Linked DNA regions of Homo sapiens: all the other regions are linked to region 5. The links are contacts of gene promoters, found by promoter capture Hi-C in blood cells and fetal thymus (Javierre and others, 2016). All regions are on one chromosome and are shown on one strand. The core of a region is centred on a gene start or on the middle of the fragment in contact, and the rest is flanking DNA. Distances in the headings are between cores, read along the strand shown. Region 1 has its middle 9.7 kb from the start of SEC62. Region 2 overlaps PHC3 (polyhomeotic homolog 3). Region 3 overlaps SEC62 (SEC62 preprotein translocation factor). Region 4 overlaps PRKCI (protein kinase C iota). Region 5 holds the start of PDCD10 (programmed cell death 10). Region 6 has its middle 9.7 kb from the start of SKIL. Region 7 overlaps SKIL (SKI like proto-oncogene).

Region 1 (4,018 bases), core at 1,015-3,514, 2.2 Mb before region 5:
TCATCATATCCCAAAGACTCTATTTTCTATATAGTCCTCTGTGGAATTTAGAGACAACCAATTTGACAAGAAGCTTCCCTAGATTTGGTTGAGGAAGCCCTTCCCTGTGCAAGAAGAGAGATTCTGGGAATCAGTCATTTGCCCAGTTTCTTGTAAGTGTAGACTTACCTGAGAACAGAGACATGTAAACATCCACTCTCTCAACCTATCTCCAATCCAGCAATTTGAGAGGAAGTATAGGGTTTGGCAAAGCTAAATCTCCAAAATGAAAACCTCTTGGGCAAGTAAAGGCAGCTAAACCTCATAAGTTGTTAGTATACCCAGACTTTGTTTCTTGTGCAAGCCCATCTATTAAGATGGACAGGCATGATGGTTCATGCCTGTAATCCCAGCTACTTGGGAGGTTGAAGTGGGAGGATCTTGGTTGAGCCTAGGAGTTCAAGCTATGATCATGCCAGTGCACTCCAGCCTGGATGATAGAGAGATCCTGTCTTGAAAATAAAAAAAGAAGATGGAAAGGGGAGTGGGATGGCAAAGGTCAAGAAGGAAGACTCAGCACAGAATCCAGGGAAGTTATGAGGGCCAAGGAAACTAAGACTTCCAGACCTGGACCTCACTTGCCGATTGGGAAAAAATCCTCAAACCTATTCCTTCTTACACTGGCCTCAGATGATTTTCTGACAACTCTTGTACTCATGTGCTGTTGTCCAGCTGATGTTTAATAATGTGGATGTCTCTGAAATGAAAAGAACAATAGGCCAGCAAACCTTACAGACTGGATATTTTACCTTTTAGGTAAATATTTAAATAATTTGGCAGAGGTTGTTATAAGTAGTAATTATGGGTCCACCCCTAAATTAAGGCTACTAGTTATTCAATTATTTTTCCTTGAGTATTTATATAAGAAACTACTAAACGATAACACTTTATAATCTTCCGTGTCATGTAAGAAATGTTCCGCTTCCTGTGGCTCCAATTATTCTATCATTTTTTTTTATTCTACATATTGCCTCTAGGTTATACAGTTTTTTTCCTTCCCCTGGTAAATGAAATCACTACATTTAAAGTGGTATATTGCTATATTTTAGGCAAACAGCAAAAAATATAATAGGTTTCTTGCCTAAGCTGTACCTCCTAAGGAAAGGGATTTGGGGGTCTTGATTTTTCATCTGCCAAATGGAAAATCTTCTATCCATTTTCACCCAGTAACTGACAATCTGAAGGTCAGTGTATTTAGTGCTCGATTGTCATAATAAAATAGTCCCCAGCAGAGATGTCTTCAGATTATTGCAAGGGCAAACCAGGATTACTGAAATATTTTCACATACAATTGTTATACTGACCTTCAACTTCTGATAATAAAATAAATGCTGAAATTTTAGAGAGTGCTTTTAAGAAATGCCTGAATAAGCCAACATTTGACTAATCAAAGGATAAGTTTACTTGTCCAGTTTTAAATTCAAGCATGAATATAATTTTTGTAATTAATATGTATCTTTACACTCTCTACAAACCAATATTGTAATAAGTGAATTTTGCTGTCTTAGTTTTTAAAATTTATTTTTATTATTCCCAACTTGTCCTTTTGAAATGCTTTTAGACTTATTGAGAAAGTTGCAAAAACTAATATGAAGAATTTTCACATACTTTTTACCTAGCTTCTACAAATATTATATTATGTAACTATAGTACCATTTTTGAAACAGGAAATGAACTTAGTATTACTAAGTAATCTACAGACCTTATTCAGATTTTGTCAGTTGTCCCATTAGTGGACTTTTTCTGTTCAGGATCCAGTCCAAGCTCACCAGTTGCATTTAGTTTTCATGGTTCCTTGGTCTCCTTTAATCTGGGACAGTTCCTCAGTTTTTCTCTTTCATAACTTTGACTCTTTGAAGAGTACTGGCCAATTATTTTGCAGAATGTTCTTCAATTTATGTTTGTCTGTTATTTCCCAATGATTTAATTCAGGTTATACGTTTTGTCAAGAATATCATAGAAGTGACATTGTACCCTTCTCAGTGTGTCTTGTCAGGAGGAAAGTAGTTGATGTGTCTTGTCATTGGTAATGAGGCACTTTGATCACTTAGTTAAGATGGGATCTGGCAGGTTTCACTGCTGTAAAGTTACTGTTCTTTCCTTTGAAATTAATATGCATCTTATGAGGGGATACTTTGAAACTATGTAAGTATTCTGTTTTTCATCATACTTTTGTCTATTAATTTTAGTATCCATTAATTATCTCTGCCTGACATATTTATTACTGTGGTGTTTACCAAATTGTGATTTTCTATTTCTGTCATTCCTTCTACATTTATTGTGATACTACTGTAGGGAAGAGTTTATTTACTCATTTACTTATTATCAATTTGACCTGATCCTCTAGAGAGTATCAGTTAGATGCGATTTGTGAGTGAGAGTCAACATGGTGACCTTTGTACATCCATCTACCATGGTTCTGTTGGCATCCACCGATTTATGCCAGGGGTGCACAGCTTTCCAAGAAAAAGACTTGAAACTCTGTGAAAGCATATAAAACATGGTCTGATGGACTAGTGTGGTCCTCATGAGGGCACGAGTTTTGGAAAGAACAGTGTGGGACATAAGAGGAAGGAGCACCCTGTAAGAGAAGAAGGAGCCCAGCCTGGAAAGTTAGACCCAGAAATAGAGCATGGGCTTCAGATGGGGTGGAGATTTTAGATTATTGCTGTAGAATTTACCTCAACACAGACTTCTAGCAGTAGGTATGATCCTTGGCAAAAGTTGTTTAGCGTATTAATTAAAGGAACTGTGAGAGTAAATGGTCTAATACATTAGATCCACACAACCTTACTGTGGGACCCTGTACTGCTGCACCTGAGTGTCACCCAGATGGGGTATTGTCCTTTTCACTTTGTAAGGTCAACTGTTTGGATCTGTAGTCTCAAGGACATTTCAGTTCCAGCTTTACCAGCACAGCTGCAGGACTGTAGCTCATTGACACTAGATGTAGCTCTAGGCATTGTTGAGTTTCCACTCCACCAGGACCCAGGGATAGCCATGGGCTCAGGAGTTGTTTCAGTTCTGAGTGATGCTTCTATGGAACCACCTGCCACAGAGGATGTGTTCAGCTCACCAGAATGGGAAATAATGACAATGACGGGCTCATAGGCACATGTAATATCCCTGAAGTCTATAGCAAATTTATAGAAATAGGGACACTATTAAACATTGGATCTCTCAGAAAAAGGCCCTTGCCAGATGACAGCCCTTTGGCCTTGGACTTCCCAGCCCCCAGAACTGTGAGCCAATAAATTTCTGTTCATTATAATAATAATAAAAAACTGGATCTCTTACATGCAGTTGAGCAAGTAGGAGGGGGGGTACTATTGAGGCTTAGGCATTAATATTATGTTAAACAATTTTAAATTGGGAGACCATTAGGCTGGAGTGACTTCGAGCAGGTTAAGTTCCTACATAAGTAAACTGAAGCCCAGTATGAGTGTGAGTCACTCATATTGCTGGAAGAGTGTAAATGGGTGCAACCTCCAGACAATGCAATTTTGCAGCATCTGTGAAAATTTTAATTACATAAGCACCTTGGCCCAGAATTCCACTTGCAAGAATGTGTCCTACAGATATGCCTGTACCGATATGAAATTGTATATGCCATACATAATAAAAAGTTTGGAAAGAGCCTGAAAAAGTCTATCAGCTGGCTAAATGAGACTGGTTAAATAAATCATGATAGTCATACATGATGAGATGTCATACAACATTTTAAAACAGTGAGGAAGCTCTTTAAGTACTGTTGTGAAATAATCTCTAGGTATTTTAGGTGAAAAATTTCCAATGTAGTATGTTAACATTTGCAATAAAAAAAGAGGTTAAAAAGAATATATGTACATTTTTGCTTGTTGCAGGAGGGGATTTAGTGGCAGGAGGACAAAGTCAGAAGAGAAATTTTTCACAGTATATCTTCTTGAGCCATGTGACCATATGCTCTAATTTTTTTAACTATAAAATTTAAATTAAAAAA
Region 2 (3,850 bases), core at 801-3,300, 2.4 Mb before region 5:
TAATTTTCTAAAGAAGAAATAGCTTTATAATTTTATTTTTTATTTTTATTTTATTATTATTATTTTTTTGAGATGGGGTCTTGCTCTGTCGTCTAGGCTGGAGTGCAGTGGCATGATCTCTGGTCACTGCAGCCTCCACCTCCTGGGTTCAAGCAGTTCTCCCACCTGAGCCTCCTGAGTATCTGGGATTACAGGTGCATGCCACCATGCCTGGCCAAGTTTTGTATTTTTAGTAGAGACAGGGTTTCACTATGTTGGCCAGGCTAGTCTTGAACTCCTGACCTCAGGTGACCTGCCTGCCTTGGCCTCCCAAAGTGGTGGGATCACAGGCATGAGCCAACCTGCCCAGCTGCTTTGTAATTTTATATGATTATTAATAATACCTGCTCATTGTAAGATTTTCAGACATCTATAGAAGAGTATGAAGTAGAAGCTAAAAATCACCTCTAATCTAGCTACCCATCAGTGGTCTTTGAAAGTTTTCCTGTGGATTCTTTCAAATATTTTAATATAAAAATGGTATCTTACTCTATATACTATTTTGTAACCCACTGATTTTCTTTTTGTTAGTAAATATAGATCGGTATCAGCAATGTACACTATAGTGGCCAGTAGTTACTTGTGGCTGTTTACATTAAAATTAAAATTAATTAAAATTCAATTTAAAATTAACTCAATTCTTTAGTTGCACTAACCACATTTTAAGTGCTCAGTAGGCACATGTGACTAGTTGTTACTGTATAGGACAGCACTGATCTACATTACTATTTGTTATGGTTGCATGGTAAAGGTATTTCTCTCCACACCCAAGCCCTGAATTCTACGAAGTTTTATCCAAAAAGGTTATGCCAACTTGAATTTTTACTAGCAATATGGGAGTATTGGTTTCCCCAGGTAGTAGTAGTATTCTTTTAAATCTTTATCCATCTGAAAGTTGGAAAACAGTATCTTGTTTTAATTTGTAAGTTTTTGACTACTGGTGAGATTGAAAATCTTTTGAAATGCTTAGTTGGCCTGGCCTGTCTTTTGCGAATTGTCCACTGGGTTTTGTTTTGTTTTTTTTTTTTTGAGATGGGAGTCTTGCTGTGTCGCCCAGGCTGGAGTGCAGTGGCATGATCTTGGCTCAACTGCAGCCTTCACCTCACAGGTTCAAGCGATTCTCCTGCCTCAGCCTCCCGAGTAGCTGGGGCTACAGGCATGTGCCACCATGCCTGGCTAATTTTTTGTGTTTTTAGTAGAGACGGGGTTTCACCATGTTAGCCAGGATGGTCTTGATCTCCTGACCTTGTGATCCGCCCACCTCGGCCTCCCAAAGTGCTGGAATTAACAGGCGTGAGCCACCGTGCCCGGCCCACTGGGTAGTTTTAATGTGTACAAGTTAGTGATTTCTAGTGATATGTAACTAGGAAAGAAATAATGTTAATAAGCTTGATGATATTATGTATTAAAGCAGTGAAATTTTAAACTGCCACTTTTTTATACTTTGATTTTCTGATTAAGATAAAGGTTGAGATTATGGTTTGACATTGGTTCAATTGACTTATCACAGGTAATTCAACAGGCATTGCATCGGCCCCCCAGCTCAGCTGCTCAGTACCTTCAGCAAATGTATGCAGCCCAACAACAGCACTTGATGCTGCATACTGCAGCTCTTCAGCAGCAGCATTTAAGCAGCTCCCAGCTTCAGAGCCTTGCTGCTGTTCAGGTAAGACTAAAATAAGAGTTTATGAGATCAAAGTTTCTGTTATCTGTAGGTAGTTACTGAAAATAAATAGATTGGGTATTATTTCAGAGTTCTCAGATGTCCTGTGGTTATTTTTCCCGGAGGAAATATATTAATAGGTTGCCGAATAGAAGTTAATTGAGAAAAAGGGGATATGTTTTTTTATGTTACTCTGTTTCTAGCTTTTGTCTCAGTGCTTTTTATCCAGATTGAAGAAATGCTATGCTAGTTTATGTGTATAAAGTTCTAGGTACAACAGTGAGTACTTAGGCTTACATAAATTGTATTTTTACTAAAAATAAGATTAAAAAAATTATATAAGTAATTATACTCATTAAAAAATCAAACAATATTAAGTTGTTTATAAGAGATAAAGTAAAGCTGTTCCTTTTCCCTGTCTATCACTGTTTCCCGTTCTTCAAAGGTGGCCACAGTAACAATCTAATACATATTTCTCCAGAAATTTTTTATACAAAGATAGGTATATCCATTTTTCTAAAATCCAATCATATTATTCCTACTGATAACAGGATTTCATTATTAAATGCTTGTTTTTAAAAAAGATTTTTGTTACTATTGTACTATTTAAATAAAGCTGTGTAAGATTTAATCTTAAATCCCCTCACCAGAGGAGGATCTCAATTGACTGAACCTGAAAAAGGTTTATTTCTGTTACCAACAGATTCTCAGCTGTTGCTTCTTAGTAGTGTAATTTTTAAATAACATGTTTGTGATACAAGTTAGGAAACTGAAACCCACTCACTGGCTCTTGCTGTAGCTCTAATTTCTTTTTCATAACTCTGGAGTAGTGATTCCACTTTAAAGATGACAGAGACCCATAAAGTGAAACTGACAATAAAGTAGCTAATAAAATAAGATTAGTCTTTGGATCCCCTGTTTTCACCATTCAGCTTTTCCTTATTTAAAAAATCTGTTTAACCGAAGCTTAAGCCATGTTGACTATAAAATTAGTTGTTTCATACATAGGCCTTTTGACATTTATTGTTGTGGTTTTGTGTTATCATGGTACCAGAAAGTTCTTAACTTCAGGTTTTTACCGACATATTCTAAAAGTCTTACTATTTTAGGCAAGTTTGTCCAGTGGAAGACCATCTACATCTCCCACAGGAAGTGTCACACAGCAGTCAAGTATGTCCCAAACGTCTGTAAGTTCCCTAAATTTTTTTTTCCTGGATTTAAAATTTTAAAGAATTGTTTTCCAAAAGTAAACTGTTGTTATTTATGAAGCTGTTATTATAATTTGTTGCATGCTGTTTAAAGTAACAATTGCCCAGAAATAGAAATGATAAAATTCAAGAATTCAGAACTAATGTTAAACTTATGAAAATCTGAGTCTTAAAAAAATCTTTTTGTATTATTTCTTGTATATCCATTTGCACTGATCATGTTCAGATCTTATGTGGTTTCAGCTTTCTGTGTGTATTGAAAGCCTAAAATATACAATGCAGGGATATTGGCCATGAATTTACTGTGATATACAATAGTATGTCATGTCCTTGGTAGACATCTAAGCATTTCTAACTTTGTGCAATTCACATTTTAGAAATTATACTTTCAGCTTACATGAGTTATTTGGGTTCAATTTGCAAGTATCCATTCAAGATAGGGTAATTTATTTTGAGAAAGGAGTAAAAGAAAGCTGATTCGCTATATTGCACATATATATTGGGAAATTGTGCCAAGTTTCCCAGGTAAAATAAATTTATGGGCATGGTAATACTTGTTTAGCTTTTAATTTTGGTATAATTTTAAACTGCAATAATAATAAAAAAATTTCTGTATCTACTCTACTCAGATTAATCAATTATTGCATATTGCCCCATTACTTTATCATTCATTCTTTTCCACTACATGTATACATATTTTTTTCTGAGTCATTTGTAAGTTGAGATATGTTCCTTTATTCCTAAATACTTTGATGTGTATTTCCTAAGAACAAGGCTATTGTTTTTTGAAGCCACAGAAAAATTACTAAATTCAGGAAATATAACATTGATACAGTGCAGTTCATTTTCACATTTCATCATTTGTCTCAGGTTTCCCAACCTCATCACTATGGACATTATGAGCCAGATAATTCTTTGTTGTCAGGGGCTATCGTGTAAT
Region 3 (4,143 bases), core at 1,526-4,025, 2.2 Mb before region 5:
ACACTGCATTGTGATTAGTTATAAATCTTCCCTAACAGATCAGAATATGTTTTGATGTAGGGACCAAGTCATAGTTATTATTGTATTCCTGGAGCCTAGACTATTTGTTGAGTAAGTGGTTTTAAAACAGCTTCTAAAACATTTAAAAAATTACTTCTGTATTTTTTTCCTTCACTTCCATTTTTTTTTCAGATTTAACAAACATTTATTAAATGCCAGACATGTTGGGGACTTCCACCAATGTGGCAAAGGTGAGTTTTTATGAAGTGCTCACACTGTGGTAATTGCTATGGAGTTACAATAAAGTATAAAACAGTCTTACAATTGTTTTCAGATTTAGCTGGCAGGAGATTTTAAAAAAACTCACACATATGTAGCAATTCTAAAATAGTTAAGGGCCAAACTGGGAGGTACTAACTTGATAAACTCAGTAGAACTTTAGATACAAAGGCTGATGAAGGCTGGAGGGCCTGGGGAAGAGTACATTCGGTAGAGGAAGGACTTGAGGGATTTGTTTGTGATTTTGAGAGGCAGGTGGGACAGAGGAAACAGAACCGTTTAGGGAAAGTGGCAAGTTATGATAGGAAAAAGACTAGAAGAAAAAATGAGTGTGGCATGTGCACAAGACTGAGGACGACATAACTGGATTGGGGGTCAGTGATACAAAGTCTTGTGGAGACTTAACCTAGTATGTATGAGTTCATTCATGATATAGGCCATAAAAAGGTATAGATCACATTAGAAAAGATTGTTTTATCATCCTACATTTTCCTATTTTGTTTTTCCTCAGACTCCCTCATGCCACTTAGCTGCCTCAGAAAAACTGACAGTATTGGAGGATGCCAAAAAAAGAAAAAAAGAAACTGGTCAAGAGACCCTTTGTGATTTTGTCTGCTATTGGGCAGCAACTCATGAGAACTGGCCAATAAGACTCTACGGTTATATTAGAAGTGGCTCTGGAGACCTTAAAGTTATGCTATTCTCATTTATTTTAGTGCAGAAAGGACTCAAACAATCTGACATCAGTGGGAAGAGCGTATACAATGAAAATCGAGTGTCTTTGGACACTCTCTGTACTCAGGTCTTTTGAGCTTTTCAAATAACAAGGTACCAAGGCTCCTAAAAAGCCAAAAAATGTGGATTCATACTGGCTGCTCTACTCAGAGATTTGGGCTTACAGATCTAATAGCTCCATTAAATGCATCGTCATTTTGTTGGAGGAGACAGTATAGAGCGGTAGTTAAGAACACAGACTGTGGAGACAGGCTGCTAGATGTAGAACCCTAGATCTGCCACTTGCTAGCTGTGTAGCCTTAGATAAAGTACTTAAGTTCTCTGTGCCCCAGTTTCTGCATTTGTAGCATCTCTTAATTTTTACACAACATGTAAAAAATACATCAGTTTTGTGGCAGGTAAGGAAGTTTGTACTTTTTGGTTTGTTTTTAAGACAGAGTCTTGCTCTGTCACCCAGGTTGGAGTGCAGTGGTGCGATCTCGGCTCACTGCAACCTCCACCTCCCGGGCTGAAGCTATTTTCATGTCTCAGTCACCCAAGTTGCTGGGACTACAGGTGCATGCCACCACGCCTGGCTAATTTTTGTATTTTTAGTAGAGATGGGGTTTCGCTATGTTGGCCAGGCTGGTCTTGAACTCCTGGCCTCATGTGATCTCCCTGCCTTGGTCTCCCAAAGTGTCAGGATTACAGGCGTGAACCACTGTGCCCAGCCTGGAAGTTTGTACCGTGGAGCTAATTCTATTCACCTTTTTATTTTTTCCCCACGAGCAGATTCAAGTTGCCCTGGATATATGCTTGCTGGAGCTAATTCTAACTAGACAAGTTGCTACAAAAGACAAGCAAATATCAACTGCATGAGTGTTAGCTCATCCTTGTCTCAACAATGTCTCACTCTGTCGCCCAGGCTGGAGTGCAGTGGCGCAACCTCGGCTCACTGCAAGCTCCGCCTCCCGGGTTCACGCCATTCTCCTGCCTCAGCCTCCCGAGTAGCTGGGACTATAGGTGCCCGCCACCACACCTGGCTAATTTTTTGTATTTTTAGTAGAGATGGGGTTTCACCTTGTTAGCCAGAATGGTCTCGATCTCCTGACCTTGTGATCCACCTGCCTCGGCCTCCCAAAGTGCTGGGATTACGGGCATGAGCCACTGTGCCTGGCCGAAACCTACTGTTTCTAAAAGGTCTGTTAGTAACCTCTAGTCTTTGGCAACTAAGAATTTTAAGAAATATTCAATAATTCTTTAACTTGACAGCTTAAGAAACCAGGTTGTGAAATAGTGGTTTTTAAGAGGGTTCTTATGTGGCTGATACTTTAGGTGCCATTAAATAAAATATTAGTACACATAAAATAATCTAAAATCCCAAAAGATAAGCTTTAGTGTTATGAAAACAAAATTTAGTTAACATATATTAAGAAAATGCTTAGTATTAAGTAAACCAAGAAAAAAAAGAAAAGAAATGGAAAGAAAAACCAGCATACTTCCTTCCAAAAGGAAGGTGATTTTGTCTTTTAGGTAAACCACTTAACATCAAAAGTTTTTTCAAAACAGAAAAAGTATCTATTATGAAAAATATATGTATATTACTGAATTAGCTGTATTTCATCTTGAAATTCTCAGAAAAAGATAAGGTAGATGTTGCAGCTTCCTTGATTTTAGAAGAAATACTACATTAGCAAACACTGAACCAAATAGGAAAGGGTATGAGGCTTATGGCTCAGGGTGCAGGCACTAAAAAAGTAGCGGTAACACAGCTAATAGGAATTCCTGCAAAAGTTTTGAAAAAAAGACTCCTCAACCAATTTGCTCTACAAAAGAAAAAACTTTCTTTTCTACTGTAGGCACTGGTATATGACTTTTGTTGCTGACCCTTCAGTAGGGCTCACAAATATATAAAATAGAACATAAATAAAAATTATATACAGTTAAAAGTATAATAGTCTAATACCAAACACATTTCCAGAGGTACCAAAGAAATCAGGTTACATGTGAAAACAGTATTTGAGTTATGTTGTAGTATCACTACATTTAATGATGTAAGGAGCTTCAGGACTATGAAGAAAATTTAAAATTATTATGTTATTCTTCACTAAGAAATAAACAGTACCTGTTGCAGTAGTCAACCACAGACTCCCTGGTTGTAAATAAAGCTTCCTCTCCTTTCTTGGCCTTTGCCCACTTTGAATCCAAAAGACAGTCCACTGCTTTTGAAGCTAAAGAAGAAATTCATTATTTTAAATTTAGCATACATGGGGATTTATGTCTATCTAAATAATATTTTATAAAGTAAAATTTCAACACTCTGGCAACAAAAAAGAAAACCAAACTCAACAGAAAACTAAATCTAACATGATCATGATTAGTAGTTCCCCAAAACCTCAACTTGTGAACTATATTAAGTATCTTTTAAAAGTAATGTTGGGAAATAATGGCATTCAGAAAGACCAACTAAAGCAAGTTAAATTAATGGGGAAATATTCAAAAATTTAAAATATCTGTATGTAACTATCACTCTTATTAATCACAAGCATATGTAGATAAACCAAAATGTTCACCACTCCCTGCAAGTAATAAAAATTCTCATCAAGTTTTACTCTAATACACTGAGGAAGAAGCTCTGTCAACAATCCACTGCTGTCACAAGAAACAGCTAAACATATTATATCTGAAGAGATTAGCACATCTACTTTTTAAAACTTGTAATGAATGTCAAATCATTAAAAACAGTAAAGAAAGAGACGATAAAGGACTTTTCCTCTACACTGGCAATTTAGTTTTTTTTTTCTTCTAAGAGACAGGTTCTTGCTCTGTCACCCAGGCTGGAGTACAGTGGTGGGATCATAGTTAACTGCAGCCTCTAACTCCTGGGCTCAAGCCATCCTCTCACTTCAGAGGCGCATGCCATCATACTCATCTAATTTTTTTGTAGAGATGGGGTCTCATTGTGTTGCATAGGCTGGTCTCGAACTCCTGGCCTCAAGCAACCCTCCTGCCTTGGCTTCCCAAAGTGTTGGTACTATAGGTGTGAGCCACGACACCCAGCTGCAATTCACTTTTAATTGATGAGAAAGGCAAACTCAACCCCTACTTATAAGCTCTGGTGTTATAAATGACATCAGCTTATAATGACAT
Region 4 (3,973 bases), core at 315-2,814, 2.5 Mb before region 5:
TCTCCTTTGCTTCCTCAGTTTCTGCTTCTTCACATCTTTCATTTGCACATTGTCAGTTCTGGCCTCGCCAGACTCTCCCTCCAACTCCAGCTTCAGTTCCCAGTGCTGACCAATTTTATCTCCATATTTTCTCATTCAAATTTCTGAGGGTTTTTTGTGTTTGGTTTGGGTTTTTTGGCACCAGGCTAGCATGCTCTATTTTTTTCTCTCTTTGGCCAAGCTATGGATCAGCTGCCCTAGGATTAGGTGCCATGGCTGAAGCTCTAAGACCAATTAGCTAACATCCCCCCAACCCTCAAGATACCACTTGTATTTCCTCAGAACCATTACTAAAGTATATTGCTAAAATAATCTTGCATTTCTTTCAAAAACAAGTCTTGCCAAGACTTGTTCACAGTAAGAAAAATCCTACATACTTCTTCACTGAAGCAGCTATTCCAAATATGCAAAGAGTTAATCTTTTATTTCTAGATGTGCACAGAAGGAATCCTCTGTATTGTTATTACTACTTGACAGCAGCGGTTTAAAAAGAACTTTCACAAGCTTTCTGCAAAAATTTCCATACATATATAATGTAAAGAAATGAGCAGTCCAGATGTTGCCTTGTTAAAGTCTATCCCATAATAGCAAGTAATTTTATATAAGGATAAGCACATACATTGACAGTTTATCACTAATTAATGAAACCTGTTTCTCTTCCTCCAAACTACTAGCACTAGGTAATAACTGAAGGCCCCTCACTGAAAAGCTTCCTTGCTAGGAAAAGACGGGTGCAGGCCATGAGAAAGGCATCTAAGTAAGATGTGGTGTCCAATAAAATTGAATTTTCAGTGCTATTAATCTCTTGCTTAAAAACTAGATGTAAATTGGCTGGGCAAGATGGCTCATTCCTGTAATCCCAACACTTTGGGAGACCGAGGTGGGTGGATCACTTGAGGTCAGAAGTTGGGAGACCAACCTGGCCAACATGGTGAAAACCCGTCTCTACTAAAATACAAAAATTAGCTGGGCGTGGTGGTGGGCGCCTGTAGTCCCACCTACTCGGGAGGCAGCCGCAGGAGAATCCCTTGAACCTGGGAGGCGGAGGTTGCAATGAGCCGAGATCACGCCACTGCACTCCAGCCCAGGTGACAGAGCGAGACTCCATCTCCAAAAAAATAAATAAATAAAATAAAATAAAATAAAAATTAGAAAAAAATTAAATGTTATTAGATCTAGAGAGATTACACGTTTTCACTGAGATCAAGCTTAACAGAATAATAACACTATACACATCTTTGAAAAGAGAGGGCAATTTTTTCACTAAAAAAAATGCTGGCTATTAAATGAGTCAACATTCACTGGAAAGAAATATTGTTAGAAAAGGGTAGTGGAGCCAGGTACAGTGGCTCACACCTGTAATCCCAGCACTTTGAGAGGCTGAGGCAGGAGGATCACTTGAGCCCAGGAGTTTGGGATTAGCCTGGGCAACACGGTGAGACCTTGTCTCTATTTAAAAAAAAAAAAAAGAAAAGAAAAGTGTAGAGGGATAGAGGAAATGCTATGTAATAATGGCCCTTCAGAAGATTGGAGAGAAAAGAAAACTTTTTCAAATGCAGAATGTTCTCACATTTCTTGGTATAAAGGAAGGATTTTCTATTTTAAAATCAGGTAGGTGTTCTAGTTAGCCAACCTGTTTATTAACTATCCTTGTCCGTGACTCATTTTAGCTTCATCTATATTAATGAGCAGCTGACTATGTAATACCACAATCATCAGTTTAGACTATACAAACACATAATCTTAACATCTAATTTCAGAGGACAGGAATTTGGTACAATTTAGAGTGCTGATATTGTCTTTAAATGAGGCTTGAAATGAAGGTACCATTAGAAAGCTTTCATTGAGCAAAGACCAGTATACAATGGGCAAGAGGTTATTTGCGCCGCAGCAAAATTTCACAGATTTTAAAAGACAATGTTACCTTGAATGTCTTGGAAAAATTGCAGTCAAACACTAAAGAAGCTGTATGTCCTTATTCTCTTCTTTTTAATAACTGGAGCAATAAGCCAAGATAATTTGCTATCTAAATTCATGAAGTACAGCAAGACTTTGATTTCTTCTCAAAGGAGTTTACAATGATTTTCATTTACTAACTGGGCCTATTTACATGTGTCAAACTAATACAAATGGGAAAATAGAAGCACTAATTTCTTACCTTTCATAGACTCATTGGAGAAGATGATCTCAATTAATAAGAATTTATTGAAAGCCTTAGGGCCAGGCGCAGTGGCTCATGCCTGTAATCCCAGCAATTTGGGAAGCCAAGACGAGCGCATCATTTGAGGCCAGGAGTTCAAGACATGCCTGGCCAATATGGTGAAACCCCGTCTCTACTAAAAATACAAAAATTAGCCGGGTGTGGTGGCACATGCCTGTAATCCCAGCTACTCAGAAGGCTGAGGCAGGCGAATTGCTTGAACCCGGGAGGCGGAGAATGCAGTGAGCCGAGATTGTGCCACTGCACTCCAGCATGGGTAACAGAGTAAGACCCTGTCTCAAAAACAAACAAACAAAAATAAAATAAAAGAATAAAGTGAAACATCTCATTCATCAAATTACAGGTAAGGGTTTAAAAAAAAAAAAGCAAAGGAAGCTTTTTTCTCACCTTGCAAAGTTCATGGCTGACCATCCTCAAGTCAAAACAGCTCTTGTGACAACTACAAACTTTAAAAAATATCCACACGTTTCTTGGTACTGATTTAAAATAAAAACCTCCTTAATCAGTTTTACCTGCTTAAACACAAAGTTATCATACTGTCCAATATAACTCCAATAAACTACTCCTGCATACAGTCAAGCTAATAATAAACAGAGGCCAGAGGCTTCATGGCAGCAAATTTAAAAGTCCTTACATCAAGGACAAAAAACCAAACACCGCATGTTCTCACTCACAGATGGGAATTGAACAATGAGAACACATGGACACAGGAAGGGGAACATCACACCCTGGGGACTGTTGTGGGGTGGGGGGAGGGGGGAGGGATACCATTAGGAGATATACCTAATGTAAATGACGAGTTAATGGGTGCAGCACACCAGTATGGCACATGTATACACATGTAACTAACCTGCACATTGTGCACATGTACCCTAAAACTTAAAGTATAATAATAAAAAAAAAAGTCCTTACATCAAATCAATACAACATTTAGGGGCTCAGATTTTCTTTGAAATCAAAACAAGAGAGGTAGTTTGAGAGTTTGCTATCTTCACTGATCCTCTCAGGAATGTAAAAGTATGCATTAAAATTTCAACCTAGCACTGCTTGAGTTTTTTAAAGCAATTTACTTCTACCTGGACAAGCAGTAAGGCAAGCCAAAGTAGCTGGGTTTTCTGTGACTTCTCAGTCTCCAACCTTTATGGTCACACTAACATTTCACGTTTCTAATGCTCCTAAACATAATTATCTCAAAAAAAAATTCAAACCACAACTGAATTTAAAGGAAGGGGGGCACTTTGCGTCACTGATAGAAAATGATTTAACACAATGAACTTAGAACTGGGTTTTTTCTTGTAACCATAGTAAGGGAGTGAAGATCAGAGAATTTAAAACTGTAACTAGGCTAGTCTCCTCACCTTGCAGTATCTCACCCTATCGGGTAGTCGTTGAAACAACACTGAGAAAGAAAGGCTCACAAAATTTTGATTTACACACATGCAACTTAATCTTGACGACACGTAAGTACCCACTGCACGTCCCTGAAAACGCATCGACTTGATTCTTAAATACAACCCCTATGTCTAATATACTGGCAGTGCAGATACACTACGTGAACACAACGGGGATGGAGGTATATCTCAGAGAACCAGAGGCGTTAGGCCTGCTGGTAATCAAAACGGACAGCTAACTGAAGAAGTCCCGTTTTCTATCCCCACAGCAAACTGAGTTAACTAAGGCATCACTTGGAATCCTCAACTCGCAACCCCAAAT
Region 5 (4,210 bases), core at 452-2,951:
AGCTTTCCATGTACTCGTTTTTAAAATGTACACATATTATCGGACACAAATGAGAAACTAACGAGCAGCAGTGAGGTACACCATATGTTTCCATTGTAGGCTGAATCCAGGTCTTTGTTCCAATATTCCAGAGCCACTGGGAAGAAAGCTAACTATCCATTCATTAAAATTCATTTTTACATTATTGCTGGCAAAAGTTATACTTTTGATAGATTAAGTCAGAGCCCATCCTATCCTGACTATTCCTGCCTGCACTTGCTTCTTTAATACGGATTTCTTGCAATTCTAGGAAACTGCAAAATAACCACCCTGGATAACAGGTCGGTAGCAGGACAATCTGATAAACCAACGTAAAGGGTAGACACTGAAGAAGAATGCAAAGTTATTTTCCTAGTGAAATAGTTCAGAAGTTATTCTATATCAATAGCAAAATTTTTGCTTTTTATAGGCTACGCACCTATAACATCCACCAGATAACATCCACCTCGTCCTCAATTAGCAGGATTTTTCTCAATCTTCAGATCTCCCAGAACAGTTTTACTGGTGCAACTCAAACCAAAAACACTAACCACGCCCTTTATACCCAGAGTCAAGCTTCCTTTTGCTTTTTTGCCCTTAAAGTCGAAAAATGTAAATCTTTCACCCGAGAGGTTTTGCACCGGTTTCCTAACCCAACGCGGACTCTTTTAGCTGTGTCTTGATGTAATTCCTATTGGAAGACGTTTTCTCCAGGGCAGTGCAGACGCCCCGAAGAAGGACCCACGCTTACCTCCCACACACCTGCAACCCCTGACGGGATGCTGGAGCTTGTGCTCGGCGGACTGTGCTCCGCTCCGCTCTCGTTCCTGCTTTCGTCTCTCCCGGGAAACTACAGTCCAGACTGCGCCTCTGGCTTCTACAGGGACCCAAGCTCCGCCTCTCCCTCCTCTAGTTGGCGAATTTGGCAGCTGTTGCTCCTCCCCCTGCTGTTTCTGCAGCTGCCCGGACCGGAGGCAGCGGAAAGCAGCTGCCCTGGTACCTTTCCGCTCCCTGCACTTCTGCAGCTGCTCTGCCACTTCCACTCCCGTGGGGGTCCCTCTCCCCTCCTCTGTGGCTCACACCTGGAGCGGCCTCCTGCCCCACCCAGGCGTCTCTGCTGGGAGCCCCGGCTCAGCCTATCCTTCCCCGACCTGTGTGTCCGGATGCCCGGTGTGCCTGGGGCTTAGCTGCTCTCAGGGAAGCTGCCCCTCTGCCCAGTGCAAGTCCCCACACCAAGCCCTCCCTTCACCTGGGCGATTTCCCCGAGGCTTCCTCTCCACCCACACGGCATACTCAGCCCGACAGCCCCAGGATCCCCACCACAGGCCCCTCACCCCCTTCCTTCCTCTGCTCTGTCAGCCCGCCCCCTCAATGGGTGAGGCGCCTGCGGGGCCTACTCCGCACCCTGATTGGCGCAGGTGAGGGCTTGCCCCGCCCTTCCTCTCCTTTCCGTGCACCATCTCTCTTCATCTCACCTCCTCCCGCAAAGGCAGGGAATTCTCCTACTATTGGCTAGAAGTGTCACCACCCATCGCCTCAGGATCCCCCGCATGGCCTGCCGGGAAGTGTAGTCTTCCGATTGCAGGAATTGCGGACAACGCCGGCGAGCGGGACTACGAGTCCCCATAAGCCTCTGCACGACTCCGGCTGGGCAGGATTCCGGACAACGCCTGGTTCCTCTTGGGTCCTTCCGGCGTCGCCGGAGTGAATTGATCCGGGAGTTGAAGAGGGCTGCAAGGTGGGAAGTGAAGTCAGTGCCTCAGTTGCTGGTAAGGTGTAGCTGTTCTGTCCCAGTCCCCGTAGCTCTGCACCGAGCAGAAGAGGTCTAGGGTCACGCAGGGGCCATGGCTGAGGCACTTGGGCTTGGTTCTGGCAGGCGGAGCGGACGGGGCTGAGAGCGGGGCCCTACGGGCGTAAGCGAGGTTACCCTACGCGAGTGGCGTAAAGCGGGTTTGTAAATGCCGCCTGCCGGCTTGGGCCCGAACGCCTCCAGGAAGTCTCCTCTAGGTGGGGGCGGGAGGGGAAGGGCGAGGTTGGCCCCTGGTGCCCCGGGAGAGGGGACAGGGCGGATGTGCCTGGGGTGGGGTCCTTTGAAGGTGTGGCTTCGGACCGAGAGGTGAGGCTGCTGTTTTCCCCCTGCTTTGTAAGTAAGAGAAAAGGGAGGAGGAAGGAAAGGGTGCTTGGGAGTCGGCTCTTGGGGGTGACTCGGGTTATGCCCTTTGAGGGAAGAGGAGCACTGGAAGAAGGAAGAGACAAATGTTGGGGTCTACGGATTCAGTTCCAGTTTAATGATGTGGCCCTCTAAGGAGATAATTTTGCCTTAAACAGAAAGACTTGACCCTCTTAGGTGTCATACCTAAGGTATGTTTTTACTCCTTTACTGCTTTCAGAGCGCTTTCATTTTGGGATGCTGATGAGGAAACCGAGGGATTATATGACGTGCCCAAGGTCACACACGTAGGGACAGACTTTCTGAATCTAGTTCGGTTCGAGTCCAGCTTTAGAGTAGGGACGTTGGTTGTGCTTTTTGAAAAGGGTGGAGGAAGTTACAAAGTAAATGTATTTTATATAGTATATCTAAGAAGCCATTGTGAGATAAAAAGTTGTTTCTTGAACCGGAGTGAAATTCCTCAATAAAGGAAAGATCCTTTTGGAAAAAATAAAAATGGCCAGTTTCAACTTTTACAGATTTTTCCCCTTTTTTTAGGGGTGTATTAAATGATAGACTCTACTCTCACAGTTCATTTTTACGGGTAGGTAATAGGATGGGAGAACAACAGTTAAACAATATATCCCATCCTTAGAAGAATATTCTTTTCTTTTTCTACCTTAGGACTGTTTTTACTCTCATTTTGTAAAACTGATAATAGTGGGATTGGAATTCTTTCACAAAACTACACTTTTTTCAAATAATGTAGCGTTAGGAGAGTTTAGTGTGCCCATTACTAGAAAAGAAGGTATTTTGCATTTCTTGGAGGTAACATCGTCTTTTTTGAGACTTTACTTTTCCCCCATTTTCTTGACTCTGGGCTGTATTTGTGTGTGTGTCTGCAAATAATAAAATTGGGCTCTTGCATATTTTTATTTTTCTTAGCATCAACTGTGACTTTCAATTCATTCTTACTTTACATTGAAGAATGAAAAAACAGTACACGTATAGTTCATATCTTGCAGAAAGTAGTGCCTTTATGCAAGTCTTATCCTCTATAATGATTATGACCAGTTATAGCTCATGACTATTATTATTGGATAAGTTTTTAATAGAATTGTTAGAGTATGTTCATTGATGGCAGAATTTATTTGTGATAACTTTATATCCATACAGGTTAGCATGTAATAAATCATGGCTTACTCTTAACATGTAATAAATCATAGCTTACTGTTTTATATATAAGTTGATCATCAGACTATGCTGAATTTTGAATGTACTCTGCAGTTACTATATTATCAACAATGTGCTTCACTTTTTAATGGAAAAACATTTTTTCGGAACAGAGGTATTATCTTCCCTGATGGTTGAAATTAAGATGGTCTGGAAATTAATACGATTTTTAAAATAGAAAAAGTATGATACTATAGAATGAAGTAAAATCAGGAATAATGTACCATAAGTAATGTAGTACACAGACAAGGAAGACCCAGTTAAACAAATGGAAAATTATGTGGTGATAACTGACTTTGTGCTGGATTAAGAAAGGTGCAGTGATGTAAGTAGACCGTAAACTGAACATGAGTCAGTGATGGTAAAGCAAGAATATTAATCTGTTTTCTAGATGACAATGTAGGTATTTGCCTTTTGTTGAAGGAGGTATGAAATAAGTTCTAACCTTTGGCATGTAACTCTGTCATTATGGAAAGAGCTTTTGAACTATGAGGAAATTTTGGAAATTAGTTAATGTAATGCATTTGTTCAGTGTGTTTTAGATTTTGTTCTTGGTTCATTTCTGCCACTACTCTTTATCTCTGAGGCCAATTATAGTTTTGATATTTCTTCTATTCGGATGGTGGATTAATGTTTGTATTGTTGTTATCATCTTTCAGTCACATGCTGCGGTACTGTTGTCACTTTAGATCTCTGCACGTTGGATAATTAGGAGTTCACAGAGTTATGTGTACACGTGGTTTGCAGCTCACCAGTGTCTGCATTTCTTCTCATTTTGAACTTTGCAGGAGCCTTATGTCAGCTTTTGGA
Region 6 (4,010 bases), core at 797-3,296, 2.6 Mb before region 5:
GAAAGAGGAAAGGAAGCAGACAGAGGCAAAGTCACTTTAAAGAGAGAAAATGATTCTCTGTTCAGAGTAAAATTTGACTGGATGCATTAACAAATCAAAATAAATGTATCCTTCAAAAGGCATAATTCGTCAGCAGGGTTACAAAATTATCTCAGTTGTGGAGATTAAAGAATCAGCCTCAATGTATTCAGAAAGTAAATCAGGTGTTTACCTTCCCTTATTCTGAATTTTTTTTTTTTTTTTTGAGATGGAGTTTCGCTCTTGTTGCCCAGGCTGGAGCGCAAGGGCACAGTCTCGGCTCCCCGCAACCTCCACCTCCTGGGTTCAAGCAATTCTCCTGCCTCAGCCTCCCGAGTAGCTGGGATTACAGGGATGCACCACCACGCCTGGCTAATTTTGTATTTTTTTAGTAGAGATGGTTTTTCTCCATGTTGGTCAGGCTGGTCTCAAATTCCTGATGTCAGGTGATCCACCCACCTCAGCCTCCCAAAGTACTGGCATTACAGGTGTGAGCCACTGCACCCAGCTGATTTTTTACCCATGAAATAAGCTTGTGATTATAATGGGGCACTCAAACCATTTGCACCTGGAGTTCTGTGCCAGTGTAAATGCTCCAGTTCCTTTTCTAACTGTAAACCCATGTATGGCATGTTGGTTGTGTGCTTCCAATGCTGTACGTTTAGTTAAGATGAGTCTGCTCATCACAGACCAGATCAATCTTGTTTGTTGACAAAATCGGGTATCTGAACCTTCAAGGCAAAGAGCCAGGTTCTAATTAACCCAGATAACCTTGGTCTGGCCAGGTCTCTGGCAGACAGCAAGATGACCTCCCTACCAACTCCCTGACCTGTTCCAGGAACATATCTTCAAAATATTATTTTCTAAGTAGGATCAGGAGAAACTGTGGAGATCCTTAATGGATTCTGCCATGGCCTAATAAGAACAGAGAACCAGAGGGGTTAGATACGGAAGACTATGAGACAGATGGGTTAATCTAAAGGATGATAGCAGGAAAATGAGAGGGCCAGCAGCATTCTTACCTAGGAAGTACTACTGGGCACTTCAGAATTGAATATCCCCATAAGAAAGTTGTTTGATGAGACCCAGAACTGACTTACTGAAATGAAGAGTAGCACAACCAGTGTTTTTAAATAGGAAACTTTTCATCTTGACTTCTCCTTTTTTTTTTTTTTTTTTTTTTTTTTTTGAGACAGAGTCTTGCTCTATCGTTCAGGCTGGAGTGCAGTGGCGCGATCTTGGCTTACTGCAACCTCCAACTCTCAGATTCAAGAGATTCTCCCACCTCAGCCTCCCAAGTAGCTGGGACTACAGGCACATGCCATCACGCCCGGCTAATTTTTTGTATATTTAGTAGAGACGGGGTTTCACCATGTTAGCCAGGATGGCCTCAATCTCCTGACCTAGTGATCTGCCCACCTCAGCCTCCCAAAGTGCTAGGATTACAGGTGTAAGCCACCGTGCCCAGCCTCATGTTGACTTCTTACTACCCAAAAAGTACCCATCAAAGCACCAGAGCAATTTTTCTGAAAGTGGGATTTGCCAAGTGCCTGCACCAGAATCATCTAAGGAGCCTGTTAAAAATATGGGTTCTTGGGCCCTAGAACTACCAAATTAGAATATTAGGGATCAGAATGCAGGAATCTTCCTCCTTTAACCCTTTTTTTTTTTTTGAGACAGTTTCACTCCATCACACAGGCTGTAATGCAATGGCTCGATCTTGGCTCACTGCAACCTCCACCTCCTAGGTACTAGCAATTCTTCTGCCTCAGCCTCCCAAGTAGTTGGAATTGTAGACGCGCACCACCATGGCTGGCTAATTTTTGTATTTTTAGTAGAGACGGGGTTTCGCCATGTTGGCCAAGCTGGTCTTGAACTCCTGACTTCAGGGTGACCCGCCCACCTCCGCCTCCCAAAGTGCTGGGATTACAGGCCTGAGCCACTGTGCCCGGCTTTCTTCCTTTAATCTCTATTAAGCAAGCTCCCAAGTGCTTCTCTGTCCTCTCAAGTTTAAGATGCTCTATACCAAGTGAAGGGAAGTATACAGAAAAAGTAGAGGGAACAGTTCCCCTACCCAAAGGGTGACCAAGGGACAATGGTGGCAGCAGGGTCACTCAGATTGGCCACTCAGGCAGGCAGGACAAAAGTGTAATGCAGACTTTCCTAAGAGAAGGAACAGGCCCGACTGTCCAAGATAGGCCCGCTGCTCCACCACCTTGAAAGTAGTTTTTTAAATGCTCTTTAGCAAAATTGGCATAATTAAGTAAAAGGAGCACTCTGGAATTCTCTCTCTGTTTCTCTCTCTCTCTCTCTCTCTCTCTGGGCAACATGGCAAGACCCCGTCTCTACTAAAAATACAAAAAAATAGCCTAGCATAGTGCTGCACACCTGTGGTCCCAGCTACTCAGAGGCTGAGGTGGGAGGATTGCCTGAGCCTGGGAGACAGAGGTTGCAATGGTCCAAGATGGCACCACTGCACTCCAGCCTGGGTGACAGAGCAAGACCCTATCTCAAAAAAAAAAAAAAAAAGAAAAGAAAAGAAGAAAAAGAAAAAAATGTCAGGCCGGGCGCCGTGGCTCACGCCTGTAATCCCAGCACTTTGGGAGGCCGAGGCGAGCAGATCACGAGGTCAGGAGATCGAAACATGGTGAAACCCGGTCTCTACTAAAAATACAAAAAATTAGCCGGGCATGGTGGCGGATGCCTGTAGTCCCAGCTACTGGGGAGGCTGAGGCAGGAGAATCGGTGAATCCGGGAGGTGGAGGTTGCAGTGAGCCGAGATCATGCCACTGCACTCCAGCCTGGGTGACACAGTGAGACTCCGTCTCAAAAAAAAAAAAAAATTTCAAATCCTTTGACTCAACAATTATTCCAAGAAATGTATCCTAACAAAGAGAGTGGAAAAAATGCTAAAAGATGTATAACAAATATGTGCATCAACGGCATTTACCATAACAAAAAATTAGAAACTTTCTAATTGAATTATTTCAATCATGATGCATGCAACTCCTCCATCCTCTTCTAACAGAAACCATCTCACTCACTTACTCTGGCCTTAGGGTATTCTCTGAGCAAAGGATGGTTGCTGAATGAGTCAGGAGCAGGGACCAGAACCATAGTCTAACCAAAAACCTAGACTTAGCCTGACCCAAAAAGCCCAGCCCAGAGGGTTAATACTGATTAATTAGGCCAATTAGACTTTCTCTTTTTATAATTTAACAGGAAAAGACGGAGTTAGTTAGCCAAGTGGAATTTATGCATTTTCCCTTATAAATGAGTTATATATTAAGTTATATATTAAAACCTCAGGCAGTAAAATGATTATTTGCAAATATGCCTAATGTATTAAAGTTATTTTCCAGAAAAAAATGTTAACAACACTGTTGTTTTATTCATTAATGTTTCAACCACTTCCCAGTTAAATTAGTTACGGTAGGTGGTCAACATATTCTTTCAATTGACAGCAGGGGAAATAAGTGTTGATACTATTCTCACGAAGTTAACTATCCTGGATTTAAAGCTTACTAGAATTGGCCTCTGTGGGAAATAAATATTGGCTCTGTTGCCAAAATCAGAGACTGGATTTCTAATGAATAGGTTTCTTTTGCACAGGTAATATAGATTTTAAAGAAACCACATGGTCTCATTAAAGGTTAATGTAAATGTGAAATTACTACCCTGAAGTTCCATCAACCACTTTGTCAATTTTTAGATAAACCAGTTTCTCAAATAAAGCTCTATATAATACCTTTATTTAATGATTATTATTTTTTATTTATTTATTTTTGAGGAATTTCACTCTTGTTGCCCAGGCTGGATGCAATGGCGCCATCTCGGCTCACCGCAACCTCCGCCTCCTGGGTTCAAGCGATTCTCTTGCCTCAGCCTCCCGAGTAGCTGGGATTACAGGCATGCGCCACTACGCCCAACTAATTTTGTGTTTTTAGTAGAGATGGGGTTTCTCCATGTTGATCAGGCTGGTCTTGAACTCC
Region 7 (3,688 bases), core at 81-2,580, 2.6 Mb before region 5:
TGTGACATTTTATACTGAAGGTCTGTGATGCCCAATAAACTTAATACTGCAACTACATGGAAATCTCAGTGTCATACACATTATTTTCCACTATTTGTCAAAAATTTTAATCTGTATAATTCTAAGGCTTTACTTTTCTATCTCATTTTAGCATATATGCTTAACAATTTACAGTCCTGGATTATTCTGGCCTTCAAATAATGTAAACTGGCAATTTCAAAACAGAGATTGATTAATCTTCCTATGTGCAATGTCCTCTATTTTCCATTTTATTCTACTTCAGGTTTTTATGTTTTTTAATGCTGGTGACCCACTAAATTGATTTCATGACCCTCCTGGCGGTTTTCAATTGAGGTTCTCAGGAGAATTTAAAATGCCCCAAGGCATCCATTGTATGTAATGAATTACCTTCTCTCCAGTGCATTTAGAATGGTACCAGTACGATCACTGGGAGAAATGACAAAACCAGCACTCAATTCATTTTCTGTAGTGCTTAAATCTCCCCTTATGGAACCCTGCTTGAGATGGCTACATGAATGACAAATTGCAGTTAGAAAAACACTGCTCTAAATGAACTGTCTTAAAATTGGTCCAAAAGTATTATTCCAGTAACTACTCCTTTTGTTTTTCTTTTTCTTTTTTTGAGACAGAGTCTCACTCTGTTGCCCAGGCTGGAGTGCAGTAGCACGATCTCCGCTCATTGCAACCTCCGATTCCTGGATTCAAGCAATTCTCCTGCCTCAGCCTCCCAAGTAGCTCTAATTACAGGCGTGTGCCACCATGCCCAGCTATTTTTTTTATTATTATTTTTAGTAGAGATGGGGTTTCACCATGTTGGCCAGGCTGGTCTCGAACTCCTGACCTCAAATCATCTGTCTGCCTTGGCCTCCCAAAGTGCTGGGATTACAGGCGTTAGCCACCGCACCAGGCCTACTACTCCTTTATTAATACTTATGCACTCTAGAAATGCTTTTGCACAAACACAGTTACAATTACATACGCAAATGAATAAATTCCAGAGGCAGTTATCACATGGTGCAATTATGAGGAAATTGTGTTTTCTTCTTTGTACTTTTTTAGTATTTACTACAATGGGCCTATATTGTTTTCATAATCACACAAAAAAATTTAACATAGACTATAAAAAGCATAGAAGTCTTAAATCATTTTTATTAAGTTTTGTTTTGTCTTGTTTTTTTTGAGAAAAACAGGGTCTTGCTCTGTTGCCCAAGCTTGGAGTGCAGAGGTGCCATCACAGCTCACTGCGGTCTCAACCTCCCCAACTCAAGCGATACTCCCATCTCAGCCCCACAAGTAGTTGGGACTACAGGCATGCCCCACCAAGCCCAGCTAATTGTTTTTTTCAATCTTTTGTAAAGACAGGGTCAAACTATGTTACCCAAACTTTTAGTAAGTTTCTTAAGCTTTTTAATTCCTTGTTCCCATAAAAAATGCAAAATATGTACTTTTAATGCCATTTGAAATCTCAGAATAAATTCAACATCACAAATAAAAACGAAATGCTGGTTTGTTTTAAAACTAAACCTGTTTCCCTCTTCGAGAATCACTGGTAACTTTATAGGGCCACTTAGACTTCACTGTTATCCAAACCTTTATTAGGCATCTACCACATTCTAGATTCGAAGACTGTAAGATATAAGAAGACTGTAAGACTATAAGATGAACTCCTGCTCGGGGGGGGGGGGGGGGCTCTCTCTCTCTCTCTCTGTATATATACATATATATGTATATATAGAAATATTACATATTTCTATGATCCACTCTTAAGTCTAGAAGTCATGAAATCAAAAGGACTCAAACTAATTTTATATCTTTCCTATTCATTCTTTCTGCCTAATATAATGAGTTAGTGATTGAAGCAAACCACATTTTATTTTATTTTATTTTTTTGAGACGGAGTCTCACTCTGTCTCCCAGGCTGGAGTGCAGTGGCGCGATCTCGGCTCACTGCAAGCTCCGCCTCCCGGGTTTACGCCATTCTCCTGCCTCAGCCTCCCGAGTAGCTGGGACTACAGGCGCCTGCCACCGCGCCCGGCTAATTTTTTGTATTTTTAGTAGAGACGGGGTTTCACCATGTTAGCCAGGATGGTCTCGATCTCCTGACCTCATGATCCGCCCGTCTCAGCCTCCCAAAAGTGCTGGGACTACAGGCGTGAGCCACCGCGCGCAGCCGGAAGCAAATCACATCTTACAACAAGATGCATTGTTTATATATTCTTTTGCTTTCTAGAGTCTAATAAAATCCTTATTTTATGTAATATGAATCCCAGTAGAATAAAATTCTATATGTGAACAAAATACAGATTCAAGCTATTACCAAAGCTATTCTCAAACAAGTTCTACCCCTTTACTAGGAACAAACTGAATTCTAGCTCGACAATCACTTTCCACTCCCAGAATTCTAAAGGGATTAAAATTAGCCCAATTCGCTGGGTGCGGTGGCTCACGCCTGTAATCCCAGCACTTTGGGAGGCTGAGACAGGCAGATCACCTGAGGTACGGAGTTCGAGATCAGCCTGACCAATATGGTGAAACCACATCTCTACAAAAAATACAAAAATTAGCCAGCTATGGTGGCACATGACTGTAATTCCAGCTACTAGGGAGGCTGAGGCATGAGAATCACTTGAACCCAGGAGGCGGAGGTTGCAGTGAGCCGAGATTGCCTTATTGCACTCCAGCCTGAGCTACAAGAGCAAAACTCCTTATCAAAAAAAAAATTAGCCCAATTCTTGATTACTTCTTTGGTTTCCCAGTGGCATAATTGATAACATATGCACTGCTACGAGAAAACTACTGGCTGACTATGATGATCCAGGCCTACTCTGAAAACACGGCCATCTCTTTTTTGTTTTTCTTCTTTAAAGTTTCTAAGTTTTTTCCCATTTCTCAAACAAAAAGGATAAATTTCTAACTTTCAAAAATCATATGCTAACAATTCTATTTTTTAATAATAAAAATAAAGAGGCTCTATTTCCTAAACCACAGGGGGCACTATTTGCAAAGCCACTCTACAGATTTCAAAAAAAAAAAAAAAAAAAAAAAATGCCAGGGATAGGGAGGGTCCACATATCCTGTTATTAACAGAATGAGCTCCAAAAACTTGATTACTCTGAAGTTATTATAAAAGTCGTTTTGTAAAAAATGAGAAAGGCACTAAACAAAACCTTATCCAATCTAAGCAGGTCTGTATTGGTCTCCATCATTCAAAACCCCAATGTGGTATCAACCGAATAAATGGAATGGGCACTATCTCCAATCAATGTATCTTTTTGGGTAACAAGTCGAAAATAATGAAATAATTCAGAAAATGCTTCTATAATAAAAAAACTGTTTCACACTTTCTTCTTGCACACTTCATTTTAGTAAGCAAATATCCAACTACTGTAATTACTGTGTAAAAAAAACTATAAATGAGATACATTTGAACCCAACATTCAGTTATCTTGTTTGTCTCAGAAATATAATTCTAGATAAGAAAATGAGGAAAGGAGGACTCCTCAAATACATAATATTTCAATAGTAGTTTGAAATACCATCCTACATTTCTGCAGTAAAGGCTCTTAACTTCCAAAATGCTCATTCTCTTGTTTGATGAATTATATTAACAGTTTATGTGCAAATTGTATCTGTTTAAAGGTTAAGCCATCTTTAAAAGAAAATCCAA

What was found. Contacts are between HindIII fragments. The CHiCAGO score rates a contact against its expected background, and 5 or more counts as called.
Region 1: a fragment that was not itself captured here is called in contact with the fragment with the promoter of PDCD10 in region 5 in 1 of 17 cell types (naive CD8 T cells); the score reaches 5.9 in naive CD8 T cells.
Region 2: a fragment that was not itself captured here is called in contact with the fragment with the promoter of PDCD10 in region 5 in 2 of 17 cell types (activated CD4 T cells and naive CD8 T cells); the score reaches 8.0 in activated CD4 T cells.
Region 3: a fragment that was not itself captured here is called in contact with the fragment with the promoter of PDCD10 in region 5 in 2 of 17 cell types (non-activated CD4 T cells and neutrophils); the score reaches 6.6 in non-activated CD4 T cells.
Region 4: a fragment that was not itself captured here is called in contact with the fragment with the promoter of PDCD10 in region 5 in 1 of 17 cell types (non-activated CD4 T cells); the score reaches 7.1 in non-activated CD4 T cells.
Region 6: a contact is called between a fragment that was not itself captured here and the fragment with the promoter of PDCD10 in region 5, in 2 of 17 cell types (non-activated CD4 T cells and neutrophils). The highest score is 7.1, in non-activated CD4 T cells.
Region 7: a contact is called between a fragment that was not itself captured here and the fragment with the promoter of PDCD10 in region 5, in 2 of 17 cell types (non-activated CD4 T cells and total CD8 T cells). The highest score is 7.3, in non-activated CD4 T cells.

Annotation. Positions count from the first base shown.
Region 1 is chr3:169,955,092-169,959,109 of GRCh38, reverse strand. It overlaps the pseudogene FHL1P1. Among named protein-coding and RNA genes, the nearest start is that of SEC62, 9.7 kb to the left of the region's middle. The HindIII fragment of the contact is 4,378 bases long and covers 76-4,018 here.
Region 2 is chr3:170,170,412-170,174,261 of GRCh38, reverse strand. It overlaps PHC3 (polyhomeotic homolog 3), which reads left to right. Exons shown (of 15, transcript NM_024947.4): 3 at 1,550-1,705; 4 at 2,812-2,889. Among named protein-coding and RNA genes, the nearest start is that of PHC3, 9.4 kb to the left of the region's middle. The HindIII fragment of the contact is 1,241 bases long and covers 1,430-2,670 here.
Region 3 is chr3:169,976,027-169,980,169 of GRCh38, reverse strand. SEC62 (SEC62 preprotein translocation factor) reads right to left here. Exons shown (of 8, transcript NM_003262.4): 3 at 3,119-3,224. Among named protein-coding and RNA genes, the nearest start is that of SEC62, 11 kb to the right of the region's middle. The HindIII fragment of the contact is 776 bases long and covers 2,388-3,163 here.
Region 4 is chr3:170,223,108-170,227,080 of GRCh38, reverse strand. All of the region lies in intron 1 of PRKCI (protein kinase C iota), which reads right to left. Among named protein-coding and RNA genes, the nearest start is that of PRKCI, 2.7 kb to the right of the region's middle. The HindIII fragment of the contact is 629 bases long and covers 1,250-1,878 here.
Region 5 is chr3:167,732,383-167,736,592 of GRCh38, reverse strand. It overlaps PDCD10 (programmed cell death 10), which reads left to right and starts at 1,701. Exons shown (of 9, transcript NM_007217.4): 1 at 1,701-1,931; 2 at 2,243-2,379. It overlaps SERPINI1 (serpin family I member 1), which reads right to left and starts at 872. Exons shown (of 9, transcript NM_001122752.2): 1 at 770-872. RefSeq lists an enhancer at 1,450-1,889 and a silencer at 1,940-2,069. The HindIII fragment of the contact is 6,113 bases long and covers 597-4,210 here.
Region 6 is chr3:170,346,035-170,350,044 of GRCh38, reverse strand. No RefSeq gene overlaps it. Among named protein-coding and RNA genes, the nearest start is that of SKIL, 9.7 kb to the left of the region's middle. The HindIII fragment of the contact is 2,988 bases long and covers 553-3,540 here.
Region 7 is chr3:170,368,462-170,372,149 of GRCh38, reverse strand. All of the region lies in intron 2 of SKIL (SKI like proto-oncogene), which reads right to left. Among named protein-coding and RNA genes, the nearest start is that of SKIL, 13 kb to the right of the region's middle. The HindIII fragment of the contact is 192 bases long and covers 1,235-1,426 here.